Linked DNA regions of Homo sapiens: regions 1, 2, 4, 5 and 6 are each linked to region 3. Evidence: promoter capture Hi-C in human tissues and cell types (Jung and others, 2019). All regions are on one chromosome and are shown on one strand. The core of a region is centred on a gene start or on the middle of the fragment in contact, and the rest is flanking DNA. Distances in the headings are between cores, read along the strand shown.

What was found. The method cuts DNA at HindIII sites, captures the fragments that hold promoters and counts their contacts. A contact is called where the count stands out against the background at its distance.
Region 1: a fragment that was not itself captured here is called in contact with the fragment with the promoter of RFC2 in region 3 in 1 of the 25 tissues and cell types used here (dorsolateral prefrontal cortex).
Region 2: a contact is called between a fragment that was not itself captured here and the fragment with the promoter of RFC2 in region 3, in 1 of the 25 tissues and cell types used here (lymphoblastoid cells).
Region 4: a fragment that was not itself captured here is called in contact with the fragment with the promoter of RFC2 in region 3 in 1 of the 25 tissues and cell types used here (dorsolateral prefrontal cortex).
Region 5: a fragment that was not itself captured here is called in contact with the fragment with the promoter of RFC2 in region 3 in 6 of the 25 tissues and cell types used here (H1 embryonic stem cells, IMR-90 fibroblasts, dorsolateral prefrontal cortex and 3 more).
Region 6: a contact is called between the fragment with the promoter of GTF2I here and the fragment with the promoter of RFC2 in region 3, in 1 of the 25 tissues and cell types used here (dorsolateral prefrontal cortex).

The regions. Positions count from the first base shown.
Region 1 is chr7:74,623,545-74,628,025 of GRCh38, forward strand. No RefSeq gene overlaps it. Among named protein-coding and RNA genes, the nearest start is that of MIR10525, 30 kb to the left of the region's middle. The HindIII fragment of the contact is 7,153 bases long and covers 1-4,481 here.
Region 2 is chr7:74,558,535-74,562,674 of GRCh38, forward strand. It overlaps GTF2IRD1 (GTF2I repeat domain containing 1), which reads left to right. Exons shown (of 27, transcript NM_005685.4): 21 at 327-510; 22 at 1,093-1,121. Among named protein-coding and RNA genes, the nearest start is that of WBSCR23, 28 kb to the left of the region's middle. The HindIII fragment of the contact is 5,828 bases long and covers 1-4,140 here.
Region 3 is chr7:74,252,059-74,256,030 of GRCh38, forward strand. It overlaps RFC2 (replication factor C subunit 2), which reads right to left and starts at 2,341. Exons shown (of 11, transcript NM_181471.3): 1 at 2,213-2,341; 2 at 371-440. The coding sequence starts at 2,325. RefSeq lists enhancers at 1,373-1,975, 1,976-2,578, 2,015-2,244, 2,579-3,181, 2,655-2,734 and 2 more and a silencer at 2,295-2,414. The HindIII fragment of the contact is 19,783 bases long and covers 1-3,972 here.
Region 4 is chr7:74,719,279-74,723,348 of GRCh38, forward strand. All of the region lies in intron 12 of GTF2I (general transcription factor IIi), which reads left to right. The region is part of intron 2 of GTF2I-AS1 (GTF2I antisense RNA 1); the gene reads right to left. Among named protein-coding and RNA genes, the nearest start is that of GTF2I-AS1, 7.6 kb to the right of the region's middle. The HindIII fragment of the contact is 4,068 bases long and covers 1-3,693 here.
Region 5 is chr7:74,583,155-74,587,211 of GRCh38, forward strand. All of the region lies in intron 22 of GTF2IRD1 (GTF2I repeat domain containing 1), which reads left to right. Among named protein-coding and RNA genes, the nearest start is that of MIR10525, 11 kb to the right of the region's middle. RefSeq lists an enhancer at 4,046-4,057. The HindIII fragment of the contact is 6,527 bases long and covers 1-4,057 here.
Region 6 is chr7:74,655,123-74,659,238 of GRCh38, forward strand. It overlaps GTF2I (general transcription factor IIi), which reads left to right and starts at 2,596. Exons shown (of 35, transcript NM_032999.4): 1 at 2,596-2,946. RefSeq lists silencers at 2,146-2,305, 2,676-2,855, 2,876-3,165, 3,236-3,755 and enhancers at 2,386-2,505, 2,526-2,575. The HindIII fragment of the contact is 40,491 bases long and covers 1-4,116 here.

The sequences.
Region 1 (4,481 bases), core at 167-2,666, 370 kb after region 3:
TGAGGTCAGGAGTTCGAAACCAACCCGCGCAATATGGCGAGACCTCATCTCCACTAAAAACACAAAAATGAGCTGGGCGTGGTGGTGGGCGCCTGTAGTTCCAGCTACTCGGGAGGCTGAGGCAGGAGAATTGCTTGAACCCAGGAGGCGGAGGTTGCAGTAAGCCAAGATTGCGCCACTGTCCTCCAGCCTGGGTGACAGAGAGACTATTTTTATCTGTCTCCAAAAAAATAAAAAAATAAAAAAAACGAAACAAGAATTATCTGGAATTCAGCCGTAGGAAGGTTTTTTCAGGTGTGCGTGAAAGAACACAGGCATGAAATATCCTGTCTGGCATGTGGCAGTATGTTTGTTACTGAAATGTTCTTAAAATAACAGAGATGAGCCAGGCGTAGTGGCTCACGCCTGTAATCCCAACACTTTGGGAGGCTGAGGCAGGCGGATCACTAGAGGTCAGGAGTTTGAGACCAGCCTGGCCAACATGGTGAAACCCCATCTCTACTAAAAATACCAAAAAAAAAAAAAAAAAAAATTAGCTGGGTGGGTGTGGTGGTGGGTGCCTGTAATCTCAGCTACTCGGGAGGCTGAGGCAGGAGAATCGCTTGAACCCAGGAGGCAGAGGTTTCAGTGAGCCGAAATCGCGCCACCGCACTCCAGCCTGGGAGACAGAGTGAGACTCCGTCTCAAAAAATAAAATAAAATAAATAACAGAGATGAAGTTCTGTAAAGAACAATTTTCATAATCCTTAGCTCCTCTTTGCTAATTTGAATTACAACAGAAATACTATTTCTTTTTTTAATTAATCCCAGCACTTTGGGCGACCAACGCAGGAGGATTGCTTGAGCCCAGGAATTCGAGATTAGCCTGGGCAACATAGGGAGACCTTGCCTCTACAAAAAATTTAAAAATTATCCAGGTGAAGTGGCACATGCCCGAAGTCCCAGCTACTCTGGAGGCTGAGGTGGGAGGATCACTTGAGCCCAGGAGATTGAGGCTGCAATAAACTATGATGGCCCCACTGTACTCCAGCCTGGGCAACAGAGTGAGACCCTGTCTCAAAAAAAAAATTAATTAAATTGAAAGAAAAAGAGAAAAAGAGGCTGAGTGTGGTGGGAAAATCAAGTGGGAAGATCACTTGAGGCCAAGAGTTCAAGACCAGCCTAGGCAACATAGTGAGACCCTGGTCTCTATACTTAAAAAATAAAATAAAAAGAAATCTTGGGCCGGGTGCAGTGGCTCATGCCTGTAATCCCAGCACTTTGGGAGCCGAGGCAGGTGGATCATCTGAGGTCAGGAGTTCGAGACCAGCCCGGCCAACATGGTGAAACCCCGTCTCTATTTAAAATACAAAAATTAGCCAGGCATGCCAGGCGCAGTGGCTCATGCCTGTAATCCCAGCACTTTGGGAGGCTGAGGTGGCTGGATCACGAGGTCAGGAGTTCAAGACCAGCCTGGCCAACATGGTGAAACTCCATCTTTACTAAAAATACAAAACTTAGCCACACGCAGTGGCAGGAGCCTGTAATCCCAGCTACTCAGGAAGCTGAGGCAAGAGAATCACTTGAACCCAGGAGACAGGGTTTGCAGTGAGCCAAGATCATGCCACTGCACTCTAGACTGGGCAACAGAGCAAGACTCTGTCTCCAAAAAAAAATTAGCTGGGCATGGTGGCGCACACCTGTAATCCCAGCTACTTGGGAGGCTGAGGCACAAGAATCAGTTGAACCCAGGAGGCAGAGATTGCAATGAGCCGAGATCTCACCACGGTACTTCAGCCTGGGTGACAGAGCAAGACTCCATCTCAATTTAAAAAAAAAAAAAAGAAAGTTTTTTTTTTATTTCTAAGCACATTGTTAGAATATTCTAACCACTTTCAAACTGACCCACGATGATAAAACTGCAGTTTCAGGCCAATGATTCCCAGGGGAAATAAGGGAACTTTATACAATGGTGATCTAAGGGAACTTTACACAACGTTGTTGACTAGAGGAACACTCTGGAAGACAGCGAATGTGGATTCTTGCCTAAACTGGAAGTTTATAAAAATTTTCCATGAGGTGGCAGCAGTTCTTCAAGTAGTTGTGAAAAATGATCTTGTTTGAAATTTATATTTTCTTTTTTTTTTTTTTTTTTTTTTTAGAGACAAGGTCTCGCTGTGTCACCCAGGCTGGAGTGCAGTCCTGTGATTATAGCTCACTGCAACCTTGACCTCCTGTGCTCCAGCAATCCTCCTGCCTCAGTCCTCCAAGTAGCTGGGATTACACATGCAAGCCACCATGTCCAGCTAATTTTCTTTTTATTTTTTTGTAAAGATGGAGTCTTGCTCTGTTGCCCAGGCTGGTCTCAAACTCTTGGCCTCAAGAGATCCTCCCAGTTTGGCCTCTCAATTAGATTTCCTTTCTTTCCTTTCTTTTTTCCCTCCTTCCCTCCCTCCCTCCCTCCTTTCCTTCCTTCCTTCCTTCCTCCTTTCTCTTCTTTTTTTTTTTTGAGACAGAGTCTCGCTCTTGTTGCCCAGGCTGGAGTGCAATAGCACAATCTCAGCTCACTGCAACCTCTGCCTCCTGGGTTCAAGCAATTCTCCTGCCTCAGCCTCCCAAGTAGCTGGGATTACAAGTGCCCACCACCACAACCGGCTACTTTTTGTATTTTTTTTTTTTTTTTTTTTTTTTGAGACGGAGTCTCGCTCTGTCGCCCAGGCTGGAGTGCAGTGGCGGGATCTCGGCTCACTGCAAGCTCCGCCTCCCGGGTTCACACCATTCTCCTGCCTCAGCCTCCCAAGTAGCTGGGACTACAGGCGCGTGCCACTACGCCCGGCTAATTTTTTTTTGTATTTTTAGTAGAGACGGGGTTTCACTATGTTGGCTGGATTGGTCTCAAACTCCTGAGCTCTGGTGATCCACCCACTCCCTCTCTCCCTCCCTCTCTTCCTTCCTTCCTTCTTTCATTCCTTTCGTCCTTCCTTTCTTCTTTCCTCCCTCCCTCCCTTCCTTCTTTTTCTTTCTTCTTTCTTTCTCTTTCTTTTCTTTGCTTTGTTTTGCTTTGCTTTCTTTTTCTTTCTCCACCACAGAGGTCTCTTTCATACACTTGGATTTGTCTGTTTAAATAAAACCTATGATTTAAAATATATATATAAAGGCCAGGCATAATGGCTCATGCCTGTAATCCCAGCACTTTGGGAGGCCGAGGCGGGTGAATCCCTTGAGGTTAGGAGTTCAAGACCAGCCTGGCCAACATGATGAAACCCCGTCTCTACTAAAAATGCAAAAATTGGCCAGGTGTGGTGGCACACTCCTGTAATCCCAGCTACTCAGGAGGCTGAGGCAGGAGAATCACTGCACCTGGGAGGAGGAAGTTGCAGTGGGCCGAGATTGCACCACTGCACTCCAGCCTGGGCCACAGAGCAAGACTCCATCTCAAAAATACATATATACATATATATATATTTTGTTTTTTTAGACAGTTTTTTTTTTTGTTTTTTTTTTGTTTTTTTTTTTTTGTTTTTGAGACAGAGTCTTGCTCTGTCACCCAGGGTGGAGTGCAGTGGGTCAATCTCAACTCAGTGCAACCTCCGCCTCTGGGGCTCCGCCATCCTCCCCACTCAGCCTCCCAAGTAGCTGGAACTACAGCTGTACACCACCATAACTGGCTAATTTTTGTATTTTTTGTGTGTGGAGATGGGAGATTTCGCCGTATTTCCCAGGCTGGTCTCAAATTCCTGACCTTAAGTTATCCGCCTGCCTCGGCCTCCCAAAGTGCTGGGATTACAAGCATGAGCCACCTCGGCCGGAACAATTTAAAAATATTTAAAGTCGTTTTAAGTGTCACTCTTTTCTTAACAGTATTTTCTACCAATTAATGCCAACTGAGGTTCTTCTATCTTTCAAGTCCATTTCCAAACAGTCTAAGGAAAGATGCAAAATTCAATTTCCACTCCAGCTACTGGAAAGCAGTATTTAATTTTAGTCCTGCCAAACAAAATGAAGCAAGCGGTAAGTGATTGTGGCACATGGAAGTGTTTCATGCTTCAGACCGATTGAGTTCGTTGTCCTTTACTTTCCACTCTGAGGCTGGCTGCCCTGTTAATTTCCATTTTCTCAGGGATTACACTGATCTCAATTTACACCGTAATAATAATAAGAAGAAAAGAATCAAGCTAAGTAAATTACAGCAGAGAGCAAAACGTGGAATGGATGGGCCCTTACAGAAGAGACTTGTTTTCAGGCTGAGAACAAAGGAGTGTGGATGGATTAGGACAGCCTGAGTCCAGCCTCAGCCTCTTACCAGCTGGGCTCCTCACCTGATCTCTCTAAGCCGGTTTTTTCAAGCACAAACATAATGACAACAATACCTACTTAGAGGATTTGGGAATGCAAAGAGGAGAAAAAATATCCATGAAAATACTTGAAAAAATTTTCCGTGCCGCACACGTCGGCTGCAGTTAGATCAGGTATTTATCAAGTCACCCAAATATTTTTACCCA
Region 2 (4,140 bases), core at 455-2,954, 310 kb after region 3:
TAGAAATTTTTAGTAAAGACAGGGTCTTGCTGTGTTGCCCAGGCTGATCTCGAACTCTTAGACTTAAGAGATCCTCCTGCCTTGGTTCCCCAAAATGCTGGGATTACGGGCATAAGCCACCATGCTGGCCTTTTTTTTATGTTCTGATCAAACAGCTCAGATTGTAATGCCTATACCTTTCCACAGTGCTACACTACATAAGAGCTTTCTCGTACCATTCACTCTCCTGCACGCATGTCTTTCCATCACATCCCCGCAATCCCATGTACACACACCCCACGCTGCCTCTCACTCCTGACGGGCAGGACCCTGCCTCTCGCCCACAGGGGAAGCCTTGGGCATCAAGTACCCGGTCCAGGTCCCCTACAAGCGGATCAAGAGTAACCCCGGCTCCGTGATCATCGAGGGGCTGCCCCCAGGAATCCCGTTCCGAAAGCCCTGTACCTTCGGCTCCCAGAACCTGGAGAGGATTCTTGCTGTGGCTGACAAGATCAAGTTCACAGTCACCAGGTACTCAGTGGGAAGGGTGAGGGTGAAGAGGCAGGACTAGCTCAGATGGGAGCTTGCACCTGCGAATCCTTAGCCTTTCCCTAGGTCCTGCCCTCCCCCCTGGACAAGGTGGCTCTCCTGGCACCATCCTGGGTCCTGGGGGTGGTTGGAGAGGGACTGCAGGCCAGCCCAAGTGAAGGGAGCCCTTCAGAAGTGGGACTGGTCACCCCCCCATGGCAAGGGCAGCCTTTGAGGGCATCTTCAACCTGTTCAGCAACACCCGCTCACTGCACCCCCAGCCCCCGGGAAAGGTATTCAGCCCCCATCAGAGGGATTTGCCCAAGGTCCCGGGGCCAGCCAGGGCAAAGCCTGCACAAGGCCCAGGTCTGCGTCCTGCAGAGTGACACTGCCAATGCCAGCACCCTGCCACATTGTCTCAGTGTCCCGCACACACAGAGCCCCAGGGCAGCTTGTTAAAATGCAGATTCTGCTGCTGTAGGTCTGGGGTGCTCCCAGGGGAGACCGAGGCCACTGAATCCCAGGGGTGTCTTCCTCATCCCCCAGGCCCTCCCCATGACACCCCTGCCTCTGTTTCTCTTCTAGGCCTTTCCAAGGACTCATCCCAAAGCCTGGTAAGAGGCACTGGCTGTGGAGGGGGCACTGGGAATAGGGCCCGATCGTGGTGCTGGGGACTGGAGCTAAGCCTGCTGTGGGGCACAGGTTCTGGGGTCTGGGAACAGAAGCCAGGCCCCTGCCTTTCTTTTTTTTTTTTCTGAGGCAGAGTCCTTCTCTGTCACCCAGGCTGGAGTGCAGTGGCTTCATCTCGGTTCACTGCAACCTCCACCTCCTGGATTCAAGCAATTCTCCTGCCTCAGACTCCTGAGTAGCTGGGATTACAGGCAATTGTCACCATACCTGGCTATTTTTTGTATTTTTGGTAGAGACGGGGTTTCACCATGTTGGCCAGGGCTGGTCTCAAACTCCTGACCTCAAGTGATCCACCCACCTCGGCCTCCCAAAGCGTTGGGATTACAGGCGTGAGCCACTGCGCCCGGCCTAGGCCTCTGCCCTTCTGTTTAGCCACCTTACCTGGGCTCCTGCCCCAGGTAGATGGAGGAAGACTAAGCTTGAATGTGGCCCCAGATCCTGGGACAGAGAAAGGGGTGGTGGCGTCAGTGACTTCTAAGTTTTACCCAGTCTGGGTTCAGGAGGGAGGGGCCAGGCCGAGTCAGTGCACCTGCTCCTCCTGATAAAGGGGCTCTGGTTGACCTCAGTGAATAGGCGAGGTTGGAGGTGAGTGGGTTCCTAACCGCAGAAGGAGGGGTGTCTGCATGGGGACCACAAGCATGTTGGTAAGATGTGGGTGGCGCCTACCCTGCCTTAAACAGTGCAGTGCCTCTCCTGACCCTTTTTAAAAAAATATTTTATATATATAATAAAATATATACATAATAAAAAATATATATAATAAAAATATTATATATAATTAAAAATATTTATATAATTAAAATATTATATATAATTAAAAATATTATATATATAATAAAAAATATTATATAGAGAGAGAGAGAGACAGAGACAGACCAAGTCTCACTTTGTTGCCCAGGCTGGAATGCAATGGCACTATCTCTGCTCACTGCAAACTCCACCTCCCAGGTTCAAGCTATTCTGCCTCAGCCTACCAAGTAGCTGGGATTATAGGTGGGCACCACCATGCCCGGCTAATTTTTGTGTTTTTAGTAGAGCTGGGTTTCACCATATTGGCTAGGCTGGTCTCAAACTCCTGGCCTCAAGTGATCCTCCTGCCTCAGCCTCCCAAAGTGCTGGGATTACAGGCATGAGCCACCACACCCGACCTCCTGACCCTTTTTAAGGCACCCATCCACTTCTGTCTCCACCATGGACTGTGTCCTGGCCTCCCAAACCCAGATTTGCAGGGGCTGTCCCTGCAGGGTGATCCCAAACCCAGATTTGCAGGGGCTGTCCCTGCGGGGCGACATGCCACTTGGCAAGCACTAAGGGCTGGCCAGAGCCTCCAGGGCGGGCCAGGCACGGTGGCTCACACCTGTAATCCCAGCACTTTGGGAAGCCAAGGCAGGAGGATCACTTGAGGTCAGGAGTTCGAGATCAGCCTGACCAACATGGTGAAACCCCATGTCTATTTAAAATCCCAAAATTAGCCAGGTGTGGTGGCGCACACCTGTAATCCCAGCTACTTGGGAGGCTGAGGCAGGAGAATCACTTGAACCCGGGAGGCAGAGGTTGCAGTGAGCCGAGATCGCGCGACTGCACTCCACCTTGGGCGACGGGACTAGATTGTCTCAAAAAAAAAAAAAAAAAAAGAACTTAGGGTACAGTGATGTGGCGGCTGCTGACAGGCCACGGGAACCCCCAGAAGGGGGATCAGGAGGGTGAGGGGTAGTTGGAGAGGGTTTCCTGGAGTAAGGATGGCCCTGCTTGGGCCTCAGGGGAAGATGGGACTTTGAGAGGCAGAGAGGAGGGTGGGTTTGGCGGGGTGAACGGCAGGGGTTGGGGGGTCACTGGATGCCAGAAGTGTGTTTCCGGAGCTCTCGGAGGGGCAGAGTGGTCAGATGATGTTGGAAAGGTGGAGAGAGTGGAAGCTGCAGCAGCACAGTGCAGTGAGTGTGGCTCCAGTGGACACCCGGCTGAGAGGTCACTGGGTTTCTGGCCCTGCACTGGTGCTTTATGCGGGTGCCTTTCACACATATTTTGGGAGGTCCTGCTGGGACAAGGTGGTATTCTAGAGGAACTAGGGTTACAGCAGAGTGCAGACAGAGGAGGCATCTCATTTAGTCTTCATAGCTAGGAGGTTGACGCTAGAGCCCACCTTACAGAGGGGGAGACTGAGGCTCGGTGTGAGTGATGTGTTAATACTCTGTGTCCCAGGGCTAGCAGGTGGTCGTGGCCTCAGCCCTCAGGGATGGACCTGCCAGCCCCTTTCCAGGCGTTGGCACCCAAGCCAGGTATCCACCAGGTATCCACACTTACTCATGCCACTAGTCATGCTGGGCTGGGAACACGTCCAGGCTCCTGGGAGTCTCTGAGGGTTCACCAGAGGTCACTGAGTGCTACTTCTGCACCAGAATGGGCTTTTCTCAAACTCTCCCTCACACGGTTCCCGAAGCCTGGCCTGGGCCAGCACCGGCAGTTCCAGGGTGAATCGGAGTGGAAGCTGGGGTCTGCTGGGGGAGGCAGGGGAAATAGCAGACCCCTTCATCTGGAGGCAGGTGTCCCAGGGCAGGTGGAGGGGTGGCAGATAGTTGCAGAGAGGCGGGTGGCTGGGGACAGTGCCCAGGAGTCAGCCTTCAGGGTCTTAGGCAGCATGTGGGCCATGGGAAAGTGCCGCCTCATTCAAGTCCCTGTACCCGCCTGACTAGCCATGGGAATCTGAGCCTTCACTTCCTTACCGCCAAGATGGACAAGCACACCTGCCTCACCATGTGATCTGAATATGGGAAAAGATGGGCAGTGCTAGGTTAGCTGGGAGGACTATTTTCCGCCAATTGCCCTCTTTTTTTTTTTTTTTTTTTTTTTTTTTTTGAGATGGAATTTAGCTCTTGTTGCCCAGGCTAGAGTGCAATGGTGTGATCCTGGTTCACTGTAACCTCCGCCTCCCAGGTTCAAATGATT
Region 3 (3,972 bases), core at 1,091-3,590:
AATGCGCTCCAGCCTGGGCGACAGAGGGAGGCTCCATCTCAAAAAAAAAAAAAAAAAAAAAAAAAAAGGCCAGGTGTGGTGGCTCACGCCTGTAATCCCAGCACTTTGGGAGGCCGAGGCGGGAGGATCATGAGGTCAGGAGATTGAGACCATCCTGGCTAACACGGTGAAACCCCGTCTCTACTAAAAATACAAAAAATTAGCTGGGTGTGGTGGTGGGCACCTGTAGTCCCAGCTACTGGGGAGGCTGAGGCAGGAGAATGGCATGAACCCGGGAGGCGGAGCTTGCAGTGAGCGGAGATCGCACCACTGCACTCCAGCCTGGGCGACAGAGCGAGACTCTGTCTCAAAAAAAAAAAAAGCCACTCACCTCTAGCCTGCTCACGGTGTCTTCATTCCCGACAATTTCATTCAGCTTTACTGGCCTATATTTTTCAACCCTGTTAAGAAAATGCATAAAAATGCTGACATGGTTATCTTCACACTACCCCACAAAAAGCACCTAAGGGTTATCCTGAGAGCTTTGTTAAAAAATTACATACATTCAGTACAACTATGCCAAATGGTTGCAAGTTTTAAATGTAATAAGATGACAGCCAGGCGCAGTGGCTCACACCTGTAATCCTAGCACTTTGTGAGGCTGAGGCGGGTGGATCAATTGAGGTCAGGAGTTTGAGCCCAGTCTGGCCAACATGGTGAAACCTCATCTCTACTTAAAATACAAAAATTAGCTGGATGTGGTGGTGTGCGTCTGTAATCCCAGCTACTTGGGAGGCTAAGGCACAGTAGCTCGAACCTGGGAGGCAGAAGTTGCAGTGAGCTGAGATCATGCATGCCACTATACTCCAGCCCGGGCTACAGAGTGAGACTCTGTTTCAAAAATAAATAATAAATAAATAAAATGTAATAAGATGCCCAAGTGCCATTTGAAAAGTTAAAGGCATGAGAATTGTACAGCATAGGCTTCAAACCTGCCACAGCAGAGAAACACCTGTTGCTGCTGGAGCACGGCCAGCACAGGTCATCTGGAGCAATGTGACACTGTGCTGCAACCCTGTCCGCCCGTCACAAGAGGCCCAGCACATACAGCACTGACATCATTTGGTGTGACAACATGGGTGCAACCAAGCTCCTTTCTCATCCCTTACCTGCCAGTTTCTTTTCTTTTTTTTTTTTTTGGAGACAGAGTTTTGCTCTTGTTGCCCAGGCTGGAGTGCAATGGTGCGATCTTGGGTCACTACCAACCTCAGGTGATCTGCCCACCTCAGCCTCCCAAAGTGCTGGGATTACTGGCGTGAGCCACCATGCCAGGCAAGGATTACCTGCCAGTTTCTGCAGACGTGTGCCAAATACACAGCATAGCTGGCTAGACACCGTAGGCCTAGGCTGGGTACAGTGGCTCATGCCTGTAATCCCAGCACTTTGGGAAGGCGAGGCGGACGGATCACTTGAGATCAGGACTTCGAGACCAGCCTGGCCAACATGGTGAAACCCAGCCTCTACTAAAAACACAAAATTAGCAGGGTGTGATGGTACATGCCTGTAATCCCAGCTACTAGGAAGGCTGAGGCAGAATTGATTGAACCAGGGAGATGCAGGTTGTAGTGAGCAGAAATCACACCACTGCACTCCAGCCTGTGTGACAAAGTGTGACTCCATCTAAAAAAAAAAAATTAACTGGGCATGGTGGTGCGTGCCTGTAGTCCCATCTACTTAGGAGGCTGAGGCAGGGGGATCACTTGAGCCAAGGAGCTGGACATCAGCCTGGGCAACACAGCAAAACCCCCGTCTTGATTTTTTTAAAAAAATTTCAAATGTAAATGTTATTGAACCTAACAGTCAAAATATTATTTTCAACATGTAATCGATATTTTTTTTAAAAGATTGAAGTTTTTGAAAACACTAGGTCATACACTACTATACACAAAAACTTTTGAAAAAACCAACTAGGTCAGAGTAGGTGGCCACCCGGGGTAGCCCTAATTGTCATAAGCATTGTAGTGAGCGAGACTCCGCTCGCAGAGTTTAGACCGGCCACTCTCGATCCATGTCCGTCGCCTTCTTGAAATCATCTCGATGCCACCCGGGGCCTCCTCCTCCCTCGGGATTCCCCAAAACGAGCCCCTGACCCCCGAGTTTCTCCGGAGCACGGCCCGCCACTCGCCCACCCTCACGTCCAAACGCGCCCATTCTTTACGGCCTGGGACCTCACCACGGCAGTTCGTAGTGGCCGGCGCTGCCGGGGGCCTTGCTGAAGGCAGGGGCAGGGTCAGAGTCCTGGGCCTCCACCTCGCCCGCGCCACCACAGACGGCCTCCACCTCCATTCTCGCGCCTCCTCTTCCCGCCACCCGAGGCACCGCCCCTTGACGCCGCCACGCAAGCCCCGCCCCCTGGCTTCCGCCGGGCGCGAGCGGAAGTTACGTACCCGCGCCTCTCTGTGCCTGCGAAGAGGGTTCCGGTGGTGCCCTGGCGGCCATCGCTGGAGGCCGCGGTTGCTATGGGAGACCTGGCGCCCGGCCTGGGAGCGACAGGAAGGCGAGCTGTGGCCGCGACGCCTTCCGAGAAAGCAGGTCGCTCTCGGAACGGACGTTTGTGTGTGGTTTCTGTGGAAGATCCGCTCCGCGGCGGCGTGGGAGGAGCAGGGCCTGGAGGGGTTGCGGCCAAACGCGGGCTTCGGTGTTGGGACACGGACAACGCTGGCGTCCGGGCGCTGCTGGGCAGCGGGGTCCGGGGATGACGTCTGGGGCTGCCCGTGCCCACTTTTCCAGATTGCTCTGAATGTCCTAGTGAGCTGCTCCCGTTGGGTAGGCTCCTGCGCCTCAACCGCGCTCGGTACTCGACGTTTATTATCAGGGAATTCTCGGCTGCAAGATGGGAATTCCACCCCCACCCCATTTTGCAGAGGAGGAAACTGAAACCGTCCTTTTGTCAGATGAAATGCAATGTTCATTCCAGGAAAATAGGGACTCAAGGCCGGTGCGGTGGCTCACCCCTCTAATCCCAGCACTTTGGGGGACAGAGACCGGAAGAGCGATTAAGCCCAGGAGTTCGAGACCAGCCTGGGCAACAAAGTGAGATCCCCGTCTCTACAAAAATAAAAATTAAAAAAGTAGCCGGGCGTGGTGGCGCGCACCTGCAGTTCCAGCTACTCAGGAAGCTGAGGCGGAGGAGTGCTTGAGCCCAGGAGGTGCAGGCTGCAGTGATCTCTGATCACACCACTGCACTCCAACCTGGTCTGCAGCAAGACCCTGTCTCAAAAAAGAAAAAGTAAATACTTCAACCTTGCAAGGGTTTTGAGCATTCTTATGGGCTGTTTTTCTACCCAATCTTTCCTCCCATAGCCCAAATTGTCATAATATTCAATAATGATGATCCCAGAACTTTGGGAGGCTAAGGTGGGAGGATCCCTCAAGCCGAGGAGTTTGAGACCAGCCTGGGCAACATGGTGAGACCCCATCTCTACAAAAAAAATTTTTTAAATTATCCAGTTGTGGTGGTACGCGACAGTAGTCCCAGTTACTCGGGAGGCTGAGGCAGGAGAATCGGTTGAGCCCATGAGGTTGAAGCCACAGTGAACCATGATCAAGTCAATGTACTCCAGCCCCGGGGGACAGAGTGAAATCCTGTTTCTAAAAAAATAAGAAGAAAAGAAAGTAGGTACTTCAGATTCACAAGTGCTTTGACCATTCTTTGTTTTGTTTCTTGTTTTTTGTTTTTGAGATGGAGTCTCACTCTGTCACCCAGACTGGAGTACAGTGGTGTGATCTCAGCTCACTGCAATGTCAGGCTCCCAGGTTCAAGTGATTCTCCTGCCTCAACCTCCCGAGTAGCTGGGACTACAAGCGTGTGCCACCACACCTGGCTAATACTTGTATTTTCAGTAGAGATGGGGTTTCGCCACGTTGACCAGGCTGGTCTCAAACTCCTGACTTCAAGTGATCCGCTTGCCTCAGCCTCCCAAAGTGCTGGGA
Region 4 (4,070 bases), core at 410-2,909, 470 kb after region 3:
AGCTGGAATCCCTAATTTCTAATTAAGTAAAGTGGAGGAGAAAGTGTTGATAGTTTAGTGAGTAATTTTTAAAGCAAGTCCCTGCCCCCTTCAACGACCCGCAAATACTACTTAGAGGCTGACATACAATTTATCTTTCAAAACTGTTTTGAAGCAATAGCTACAAATATATTCTACAATACTCTCTATAGCTAAGATTGCTTCAAACCTGTTTTTTTCTCCAAAGATAAGCTTGAACTCAGCTGAGCCAGTTTATCCTGAATTATTTGAAAATTCAGCTAATAGAATTATTAACTATCACTTCATATTAATAGTTATTAAATGAGCATTGCGTTTTTCCTTTTAAATTAATGTCTCACAGCTGGGCACGGTGGCTCACACCTGTAATCCCAGCACTTTGGGAGGCCAAGGTAGGCAGATCACCTGAGGTCGGGAGCTCAAGACCAGCCTGACCAGCATGGTGAAACGCCCATCTCTACTAAAAATACAAAACTAGCTGGGTGTGGTGGTGCATGCCTGTAATCCCAGCCACTTGGGAGGCTGAGGCAGGAGAATCGCTTGAACCCTGGAGGCAGAGGTTGTAGTGTGCTGAGTTCACGCCATTGCACTACAGCCTGGGCGACAGAGTGAAACTCCATCTCAAAAAAAAAATTAAAATTAAAATTAATGTGTCACAATACTTGTGTAAGTTTCTTCCCCTGAAAGTACTTCTTTCTTGTGGTAAAATGTGAAAATGGTACAGTAAATTGTACAGTGGAAAGTTTTCTTCACCCTCACTCTGCTCCCAAGTCCCAATACTGAGGGATGTATGCCAGCTTATTGTGTCTACTTAGAGAAATAATTGCAGTACATATCTTGATGCGAAAATACACAGATGCTTTCAGCATACATTACAATGCACATTTTAAAATATTACATATTCCATAGGCCTCCCCCTCCCATAACTGCACATCTTGGTACTTTATTAGTTTTTTTTTCTAGCTGCTGCGTAACCTTTCTTGGTTTGCTGTCTGTCTCTCTTTCTCTCTTAATAACCTGTCACCTACTGATGTCACTTGGTTATTTCTAGTGTTTGACTACTCCAAACTACTCAACGTGTCTGTCTTCATTGCTTCTAAAATATAAGTCAATTAGTAGCTTCCACTTAATACAAGAAATCTTTTCATACTTCATGTGTTAACTTAATATACAGATTTCTTTTTTCATAAATATAATTTTTCTAATCTAAAACATTTTGCATTGTTTACAGTCCAGCATTAAATGGTTGAAATTTAATTCGTTTTTAGTGAGAAACCTCATTAACAGGAAAAAAACTTAAGAACATACAAATATTACAACTACTCAGCTGTGCCCTTTCTATGGAGATATTAATAGGAGGTTATTAAAATTATAAAAATAAAGCTTTTAGGGTAGGACTAATAACCATTTTGATTTGTCAAATCTTAAAGCAGATAGAAGCTGTATTTTTTTTTTTTTTTTTTTGAGACAGAGTCTGGCTCTGTCGCCCAGGCTGGAGTGCAGTGGTGCGATCTCGGCTCACTGCAAGCTCTGCCTTCCTGGTTCACGCCATTCTCCTGTAGAGGCTGTATTAAAATGGTTTAGAATGTAAATACTTGCTTTTATAGTATAAGACTTTTAAAGAAAGGTTACGAAAATCCAGAAATAAATGGCTCATGAACCTGAAGCTTATGTCAGCCTTTTGAACTTTAACTGTTTTGGATGGAGTAATAAATCTCTTTTCTTTTCATTTATTTGTTTATTTATTTATTTATTTGTTTTTGAGATGGAGTTTCACTCTTGTTGCCTAGGCTGGAGTGCATTGGCGCTATCTCGGCTCACCGCAACCTCCGCCTCGCAGGTTCAAGCGATTCTCCTGCCTCAGCCTCCTGAGTAGCTGGGATTACAGGCATGCGCCGCCATGCTCGGCTAATTTTGTATTTTTAATAGAGACAGGGTTTCTCCATCTTGGTCAGGCTGGTCTCGAACTCCTGACCTCAGGTGATCTGCCCACCTCGGCTTCCCAAAGTGCTGGGATTACAGGCATGAGCCACCGCACCTGGCCATTCATTTCTTTTAAACTAAGACATTGTGCCATAAGCCTGATTTAATGTTCACATTTGTGATTAAGTAGTAGAATTTTGCTAGTAGACCTCTTTCTTTTCAGAAGACCAGTGAAATACCAGGTCTGAGTAAAGTAATCCTTTTAAAAGGTAGCATTTTCCATGTCATATGTGCATATACACACACACATTTTATGTATTATATATAAAAAATATGTATATTATATAGAAATTACATCAACAATTAAATTCCTCATTTTTTTAAGAAGATAAAAAACTGTCTCAATATTAACAAGGAAGGTCAAGTGAGAACTTACATGCACACCTCTGGTTAATAATGTGTATCATATATTCTTTCTGGAAAGATTACTTCCAAATGGTAGGAGCTATTTAGATACCCGTAGTTAGGAAATAAAATTTTGGTATATCTTCATAACAGAAAAATATATAGCCATTGAAATCCTGATAATGTTTTCCAATAATCTGAAAAAAGATCTCTAATATAAAATGTTCAGTGGAAAAAAAAAAAATCCTGCCTTGAGAACAAGGCAACTTGAAAAGCAAAAGTGCATCTAGAGGATAATCTTAGTTTTGTTTTGGAAAATACTCATGCTTGGTAGGAAGACGGACAAAAATAAACTGAGATATTCCTGCTTGCTTGGAGACGACTTAATTTTCTCCTTTTATATCTTTTCACATTTCCCAAATCATTGGTAGAAAAAAAAACAGAACTTTGTTATCAAATAAGTCTGTCCGATTTTTCACAGTGTTTTCACCTCGATATCTTCATTTGCAATTATGTGGAGTTCTGAAGTGGCTAATTTGACACCGACGCGGACGTGTTTGTGGATACAGGGTCATTACTTACCCACTGCCGGTGCGCTCTGAGCTGTGCACTTCCATTTGTGGCGTTTTATTTGTACTTGGAGTCGGTGGTAAACATTTAAAACATACGTGACTTAGGTTTGGGAAATCGGCCTTGGACTAATAGGACCGCATGCCTCAGTTTTCGTAAACACCGTGACTACATTTCTGGGTTAAGGTGAATTGCCGTCAGGTATGTTATCTCTAATGTGTGCAGAGAAAACCTTATCAGACTTGTTTCAGGTCTAGCTGTCATGGGAGTGCTAAGAACCGTGTAAAGGAGGTTTCTTTCTTGCGCAGTTCTCTCTTAGGGCCTAGCTTCCCAAACCTGAGTCACTTACCTGTTACCTGTGTTCCTTCTGCTGTGGCCTAACTCTCTGTTCATTACTTAACCTGATTTTTTTCCCTTAAATTGATTTTAAGTAAATTCATTTTGTGATGAATTTTACGTCTTCCTAAGTCAAACTCTGGCTTTTTTATTTCTCATATTTTGAAAGGTATATGTAAATAATTTCAAATATAATTGACTCACATGACCACACGTGGCACACTTACTGCAGCTGGTACTGTAGGTTTTTTAGGATCTCTGTAATTGAGGAGGTTAGCGTTGGAAAACTTCTGTGTTTTTTATTTTTATAGCTGCCAATCAGACACTTAATGAATACACAATTATATATGTAAAAAAAGGAGTCTCAGAGGAATTATGTACTAAGATTTGAATAATACGTTTTTAGAGTTTCAGTATTTTAGTAGGGTTTATGATGGGCAGTTGGACTACCTACCATCCCTTTCTTGTGGAATTTATGTTTAAGATAGTGCCAGATACTTGACTGCAGCATATAATTAGGGACTAAACTATTCATATGTTCATTTAATCCCTCCACAAATACTGAGCACATTGTATGTACCAGGTGCTAAGAGTTTTTTTTTTTTTTTTTTGAGACGGAGTTTCGCTCTGTCGCCCAGGCTGGAGTGCAGTGGCGCAATCTCGGCTCACTGCATCCCCTGCCTCCCAGGTTTAAGCAGTTCTCTGCCTCAGCCTTCCTCCGAGTAGCTGGGATTATAGGCGCCCGCCACCATGCCTGGCTAATTTTTTTTGTATTTTTAGTAGAGACGGGGTTTCACCATTTTGGCCAGGGTGATCTT
Region 5 (4,057 bases), core at 1,459-3,958, 330 kb after region 3:
GTATGTGCCAAGCTTGTTTTTTATTTTTTAATTTTTGTTTGGTTGTTTGTTTGAAACAGGATCTAGCTCAGTCACCCAGGCTGGAGTGCAGTGGGGCAATCATGGCTTACTGCAACATTGACCTTCCAGGCTCAAGCAATCCTCCCACCTCAGCCTCCCAAGTATCTGGGATTACAGGCACACACCACCATGCCCAGCTAATTTTTCTTTTTTTTTCTTTTTTTTTTTTTTTTTTTGTGGAGACAGGGTCTTGCCATGTTGCCCAGGCTGGTTGCAAACTCGTGGCCTCAGTCTCCCAAATTGCTGGGATTACAGGCGTGAGCCACTACATCCGGCCAGTTCTTGGTGTTATTGACAAAGGCATTTAGCCCCACTCCACCCCTCCCACACTCCAGAGGTGGTCAGGACGCCTCCCCAAACTGCCAGCCCCCTCAGCCAGCCCGGCCCCACTTTCCTGACATGCACACTCCCACCACTTCTGGTCCACCGCCTGGGACCTGTGCCCCATATAGAATTGCCATAGTATCCTATCGACTGCCCCGTAGTGTCACTCCTGGTTAGCTGCAGCCTGGTTTAGGGTTGCACTTCTTCCCAGACCAGGCAAGACTTGGAAGGAAGAGGGGAAGTTTCCTGATTGGCTAAAGCATGTTGAGCACCTGAAATCACAGGATACTACAAGTTTCCTTGTGTCTTACTCACCGCTCACAACTGCCTTGGAGGTCCGTGTGATGAGCCCCAGCGTGCAGATGAGCCCACATCCTTGGAGCTTTGGGCCCCGTGTGGTGGTCACCTCCTCTGGGAAGTCCTCCCTGACTCCCAGCTGGGTCAGGATCCCTGCTATAGACCCCCGTGGGCCATGTAAACCAAAAGTGCCTGAAACAGGTCTCAATCAATTTAAAGATTTATTTTGCCATGGGGGAGGACACAGCCAGGAAAAAGAGACTCAAGCTGCAATAGGGTCTGTGGCCTGTGCTTTTTTCCAGAGTTTTGAGGACTTTGGTATTTAAAGGGGAAAGAGGGCCTGGGTACGGTGGCTCACAGCACTTTGGGAGGCCAAGCCAGGTGGATCACCTGAGGTCAGGAGTTCGAGACTGGCCTGGGCAGCATAACAAAACCCCATCTCTACTAAAAATACAAAAAATTAGCCAGGTGTGGTGGCGGGTACCTGTAATCCCAGCTACTCTGGAGGCTGAGGCACGAGAATCACTCGAACCCGGTAGGCGGAGGTTGCAGTGAGCCAAAATCATGCCACTGCACTCCAGCCTGGAAAACAGGGAGACTCTGTCTCGAAAAATAAAAAAATAAAGGGGGAAGAGGAATAGTTAATGATGTATTTATCCTGTGCTCAGTAAATCTGCCTTTTACATAAGATAAAGTAAATAGAGTAGAGGAAGTCATATAGGCATTTGTCTTGGGTAGACAGAGCAATGATTTCTATTCTTATCTTTGTCCCCTGCCTGTGAAGATAAGCTGTGAATTTACATGGCCAGGGTGAGGGAGGCCACCAGGGGAGCTAGGTGGCCTTCTATCTTGCAGCCATCTGTTTAGGAACAAAAGGCTATTGCGTGACTCAGTTCCCAAGCTTAACATTTCCCTTTGGCATAGTAAGTTTGGGGTCCCATGTTTTTTGTTTGTTTGGGTTTTTTGTGTGTTGTTGTTGTTTTGAGATGAAGTCTCGCTCTTGTCCCCCAGGCTGGAGTACGATGGCGCGATCTTGGCTCTCTGTAACCTCCGCCTCCCAGGTTTAAGCGATTCTCCTGCCTCCGCCCCCGGAGTAGCTGGGATTACAGGCACCTGCCACCACGCCTGGCTAAATTTTGTACTTTTAGTTGAGACGGGGTTTCACCACGTTGGACAGGCTGGTCTCGAACTTCTGAGCTCAGGTGATCCACCCACCTCGGCCTCCCAAAGTGCTGGGATTACAGATGTGAGCCACCGCGCCCAGCCTGTTTGGTGTTTTTTTTTTTTTTTTTTTTGAGACGGAGTCTTGCTCTGTCGCCTAGGCTGGAGTGCAGTGGCGCAATCTCAGCTCACTGCAACCTCCACCTCCCAGTTCAAGGGATTCTCCTGCTTCAGCCTCCTGAGTAACTGGGATTACAGGCATGCACCACCACGCCCAGCTAATTTTTTGTATTTTTAGTAGAGACGGGGTTTCACCATGTTGGCCAGGCTGGTCTGGAACTCCTGACCTCAAGTGATCCACCTGCCTCGGCCTCTGAGAGTGCTGGGATTATAGGCGTGAGTCACCGTGCCCGGTCTGGGCCTCGTCTTTGAGAGGCCTGCTAAGCTTCTTTCTGTCCTGCAGGTTTCGTAGAGCTCTGACTTTGAGTCTCGCTCTGTCCCGACACAGGAGAAGACAGAGGTGTGGCATTGTGGGCTGAGAGCAACAGATTAGAGGAAACTATCTTAAAGATTAAGCCTTCTTTCTACAGCTACTGTAGGGGAGCCTGGGCATGGTGGTTCACGTCTGTAATCCCAGCACTTTGGGAGGCCGAGGTGGGCGAATCACCTGAGGCCAGGAGTTGGAGACCAGCCTGAGTAACATGGTGAAACCCCATCTCTACTAAAAATACAAAAATCAGCCAGGTGTGATGGTGGGTGCCTGTAATCCCAGATACTCGAGAGGCTGAGGCAGGAGAATCACTTGAACCCAGCAGGCAGAGGTTGCAGTGAGCCAAGATCGCACCACTGCACTCCAGTCCAGCCTGGGTGACAGAGCAAGACTCTTCCAAAAAAAAAAAGAAAAAGAAAGAAACTGTAGAGGAATCTGAGACCTCAGGAAACCCAGGGCTCATGGTAGAGTGGAAAGACCAGGGCTTTGGGGTTGACACAGAGTACTCCTGGTGCTTAGAGGCTGTGTGACCTTGGGCAAGTTTCTTTACCTCTCTGAGCCTCTGTGTCTTTGGCTGCAGTGTCTAGGAAAGCATCTGCACACAGTGATGTGTGTGATCCAGGCCATCCTTTCTCTGTTCTGTGCATGCATGGCCATGCCTGCTGAGAATCCTGCCACCAAAGATTCCTCAGTGGCATGGGGACAGATGGAATGTGCTGTTGCTTCCCTGCAGGCTCTAGGAGCTGGTCCTTGGGCCCAGGACTCCATCACTGTTGTCTGCATGGATTTGGACAAGGGTGGCCTTGATTCTTCCCACATCCTAGTCCTGAAAGGAAGGCCCGTGTTGGGTCACAGGAGAAGACGAGGGTTCTAGGGGATGTGGAGCGTGGGGTCTTTGTGTGGCTGAATTAGAGGCATTACTCCACGAGATAGGGACACGGGAGGAGGACGTTGTCTGGAATGGCTGATGTTTGCAGTGTCTCTGGGCACGCAGGGGGGCTGGCGGGCCGTGCCTGAAGACAGATCAGCAACTCAGAGATGTGCAGAGATTGCTGAGTGTGGGTGTGGACGGACCAGGCCAGGGACCTGCAGGGTTTGGGAGGACCTGAGGTGGTGGGTGTTGGAGCCCTGGGAAAAGGAGGAACCAGGCCAAGCAGGTGCCCAGCCTCTGTCCTGTGGGAAGCTCCCTGCTCTTTGGGGCAACCCCCACATGGGGAACAGGGCCTCCATTCTGGCAGCTTGCGCACGGGAGGCCAAGCCACCCAGACGGGGTCAGCAGACTCTAAGCAGCACAGAGCACCACGCCAGGAGATGCAGTTCCCAAGGCAGCCTCCTAAACAGAAGTGAGCTCTTCCCAGAGTTTTCAAGATTAAAAGAGCCAGACACAGTGGCTCACAACTGTAATCCCAGCACTTTCGGAGGCTGCGGACAGGAGGATCGCTTGAGCTTAGGAGTTCGAGAACAGCCTGTGCAACAGAGAGAGACTCTCTCTACAAAAAATTTTAAAAAAACTTAGTCTGGCATGGTGATTCATGCCTGGAGCCCCAGCTACTTGAGAGGCTGAGTGGGGAGGATTGCTTGAGCCAAAGAGTTCAAGGCTGCAGTGAGCTATGATGGCACCACTGTACTCCAACCTGGGAAACAGGGTGAGACCCTGTCTCAAAAAACAGGAGTCAGGCTGGGCACAGTGGCTCACGCCTGTAATCCCAGCACTTTGGGAGACCG
Region 6 (4,116 bases), core at 1,346-3,845, 400 kb after region 3:
GTGGGAGGATGGCTTGAATCTGGAGTTGGAGGCTGCAGTGAGCTGTGATCGAACCACTGCAGTGCAGCCTGGGTGATACAGTAAGACCCTGTCTCAAAAACAGGAAAAAAAAAAAGTAAAACAAAACCCCAGCTTTGCAGAGAGATAGTATCCAAAGTGATTTATAACAATGGCCACAATTAATGTAGTATCTATGCCACTAAGATGAAGGAGAAATTGGTTGACAAGTGTTCCAACAAGCCGCAGTGAGCCAGACCTTAATGAAGACAGAACACGCAAGATCTTTATGACTGTAACACATGAATTTGAGGGTTACAAACCTTAATGGCAAAATGCTCAGAAAAACGCTTTGTCTGCATACACATTGCCTCAACAGAGACAGCTTTCTGACTAGAGGTAATTCAAAACCAGCTCATGTTGACCTAACCGTTTTAGGAATTGCTTCAGTCTCAAAGAAGTTGGAGTTGTTTATGAAGAGGCAGCAAAATTCCACTGTGGGCCCGGTGCGGTGCTCACGCCTGTAATCTCAGCACTTTGGGAGGCTGAGGAAGGCAGATCACTTGAGGTCAGGAGTTCGAGAACAGTCTGGGCAACATGTTTAGTAGAAACCCGTCTCTACTAAAAATACAAAAATTAGCTGGGCGTGGTAGTGCACGCCTATAATCCTAGCTACTCAGGAAGCTGAGGCAGGAGAATCACTTGAACCCGGGAGGTAGACGTTGCCGTGAGCCGAGATCGCGCCACTGCACTCCAGCGTGGGTGACGGAGCGAGGCTCGGTCTCAAAAAAAAAATTCCACTGTGAACCACTAAACAAATTCATAGAAGAAAGGAACTACCTTCCAAACGTTTTCACGATGATAAGAGTCATCTTGGCTAAATAAACTTCTGCCTTGCTAACTCACTTTGTAACATCCCCCCAAATTCTACTCCACGACTCCACTATACCCAGGAAATCCTTTCCCTGACCCCTCCAGGTGGAGAAACCACTCTCTCAACAAAAGATACTCACTGAAGTCCACAGCAGCTGAAATCTGCATCTCGTAGGCTGGCTGCTCTTACTAGAGTGAGTTATAGGCTTCTCAAGAGTTAAATTTGTTCCTAAATATATGCCAGTGGCACGTGGTATTGGGAATAGAGAATTTAATTAAATATTACTAAATGTCAATGAAATACAAGTGCAAAAAGAAAGTTGCTCTTGTGCAAACTTAATGAATGACTTTCGAGACAATCGACAAAGGAGAGTCACAATCTTATTAGGCAAGGACCGAAGGGATCCTAGACATTGTCCGGGAAATCGCAAAAATTCAGGCTTCTGTAATCAGATTGCTTCTCCGGTGAGCTTTACGCTCTCCATGTATTTTTCAAAAAAAATCCAACATGAAAATTCTAGAGGAGGCTTTATTGGGTGCGGTCTGTGCAAGAGAGACGATGGGGAATGCCAATCGGAGAACCCAGATTGAAAGGAAAGGTTTTTGGAACCCACATCAAAAGACTGGCTGCTCGGAAAGTTTTCTCGCTAGCGACAAAGGCTTGGAGGCTGGAAAAAGCGTCGTGGTCGCCACCTACCGAGAAGCGGCGGGTGGGGGGAGGATGGCCGTCGTGGCCCGAATCCCCAGTGGGTGGTACTGGGTGGGGGGGCGGGCGGGAATCAAAAAACCACTCAATCTCGTGCTTTACATAAACATCTAAAAATCGTCGGCCTCGGGGTTGTAAAGTTTTGGAGTTTAACTTAGGTGAACAGTAATGTCTCTCCATTTTCAAAACCCACCGGCTAATTCAAGTTGAGAAGCAAAAAATAGTGGTAGGGGGAGGAGTTTGAGTTAAATCGCATCGCGGTTGACAGAACAAAACAGGAGCTACGAGTCAGGATTTCTGCTCCCACTCCCTTGCAAGTTTCCTTCCAAATCCTGAGGGAGAGATAGAGGCGGAGGGTCTGGGGGAGGAATTAAAACACAAGGTCTCCTCCCCTCTCGCCTGTCCGAACTTGGGGGCAACGGTCTCTTTGGAGGCCAGCTTGGAAAACACTAGAGAGGAGTTCTTTGTGTCCTGGAGGGTGGTGCAAGGCGGAAGGACTCCCCTTTTGCAGAGCAAGGAGGGCGACGGCCCAGCCCGGGGCTCCCCGGCTTTTGCAGCTTCCCTGCCTCGCAATTTGCAAGGAATGTGGGGTGCAAGAGCAAGTGGCGGACTTGGACGGCGGCTGGCGCTCGGTGGGGACGACGCCGGAGCCACCACCCGTCCAGATTTCCGTTTCTGCACCCCGGCTCCCCTCCCCCACCCGGGCGGCCGCGCAGGCCCCAGGTGCAGCCATGTTCTCGCTCCCACCACCCTCGCCTCCATTGACAGCCCTTGCTGGAGAGGGCCGGGCGCCGCGCTTGCCTCGTCCTCGGGTTCGGGGCTAGCCGGCGCGGTGCTTCCTGGGAGTTGTAGTCCACGACCGCCGCCGCCGCGTTGACGGGGAACGCATCCGAAACTACAACTCCCGCTGGGCGGCGCTGCGGATGCGCAGGCGCAACGCGCCTTCGAGGAACAAAAAAAAAAAAAAAAAAAAAAAAAAAGAAAAAAAAGAAAAAAAAAAGGAGGAGGAGGAGGAGGGTGAGAGAGAAGCTGGGAGAGCAGAGAAAAGGGGCCACCGGTCGCCCCCCCGCTTCCCCGCACGCGCTCTCCAGCCGCGGCCGCCCGCCTGCCGCGGTCACCCCGGCCTCTGCCTCTGTCCCCCAGTGATCGGATCAAGGCGCTGAGCGAGGCCCTGCCTGCGGGGCGGCCATGCGGCGGTGACAGGAGCGCGACCGACACGCACGGGCCCCTCGCCCCCTCTCGCCTCCCGTCCGCTCGCCAGCTCCCCTCAGCCGAGGCTGCTCCGCGGCGGCCGCAGCCCGCGCGCGGCCCACACTCGCCTCCCCTCGGCACCCCCGGCCCCGGAGCTGCCTGGAGGCGGCCGCACTCGGGTGAGTCCCTCTCGCCTCATCCCCGCGCCCCCCGCCCCCGCCTCGGGGGCCATTGCGAGCGGGGGCCTTTATTAGAGACTTTGCCCCGCCGGGGCCTGCAGGGACAGGGGCCTGGGAGCCGCGGCCCGCCGCGCGCGGTGTGGGGCCTTGGGGGGCGCCCGTGCCGCCTCCCCCTACCCCCACCCCCACCGCCTCGCCGGGTCTCGAGCCCCGCCGGCCTTGGCAGTGGCCGAAACGAGGCGATGGGGGTGGGGCGGCACGGACGCGGTCGCGGGGGACGACAGTGGCACGCGCGCGCCTCAGTGCGCGTGGGGGAGGGGCGCGCGCGCCGACCGGCGTGCGGTGGGGGGGCGCCTCGCGCGTGCGATCCCGCGCGCGAGCGAGCGAGCGGCCCTGCGGGCTGCGCATGCCCCGCCGCGCTGATTGGCCGGCTAGGCGGTGCGGGGGCGCGCGCGGTGCCAGGCCCGAGCCGTCGTGGGGTCGCGCTCGCCTGGTGTATCTGGGGCTCCTGCGCCGGGGCAGCAGACGCGCGGGATTGGCCAACCGGCGCGGGGGCGGGGCCGCGCGTTGCCTGGTAACTGCGGCGGGCGGGGGAGCGGGAGCGCTGTCCCCCGCCCCGCCCCGCTCCCAGGTGGAGTCCGCAGTGGGCTTTGTCCCGGGCCGGCCCGGCGCGCCTGCCCCGCGGGGCCTGTTCTTTGGGGGAAATAAACACAATGACCGGAAGGAAAACTTCAGCTTTAGGCCATGAAAATTAAGCCGTCTGGGTTCAGCCAGCACCCAGACGACGGGAGTGCAGAGGAAGAAGGAAAATGAAATGGAAAAAGCTGTCTCCTTCCCGCTCCCCGACTTCTCCACTTTTTCTTAATCCAGCTTTTGCTTTTTCGTGTAGCGAATTTTGTCCTCCCTAGGTTATGGATTTGCGCTGATTTGCGGCTGGGGATGTTCACAGGTGGGGTGCTGTTGGAGTAGTGTCCACTCTTGGCGATGCGCAGCTCTTGCTGACTACTGACCTCCTTTTTTTAAAAAAAATTATTTGTGGAGATGCGTTCTCACTTTGTTGCCCAGGCTGGTCTTGAACTCCTAGGCTCAAGCGATCCTCCCACCTTGGCCCCCCATAGTGCTGGGATTACAGGTGTGAGCCATCGCTTTCGGCTTAATTTTCTTTTTTTT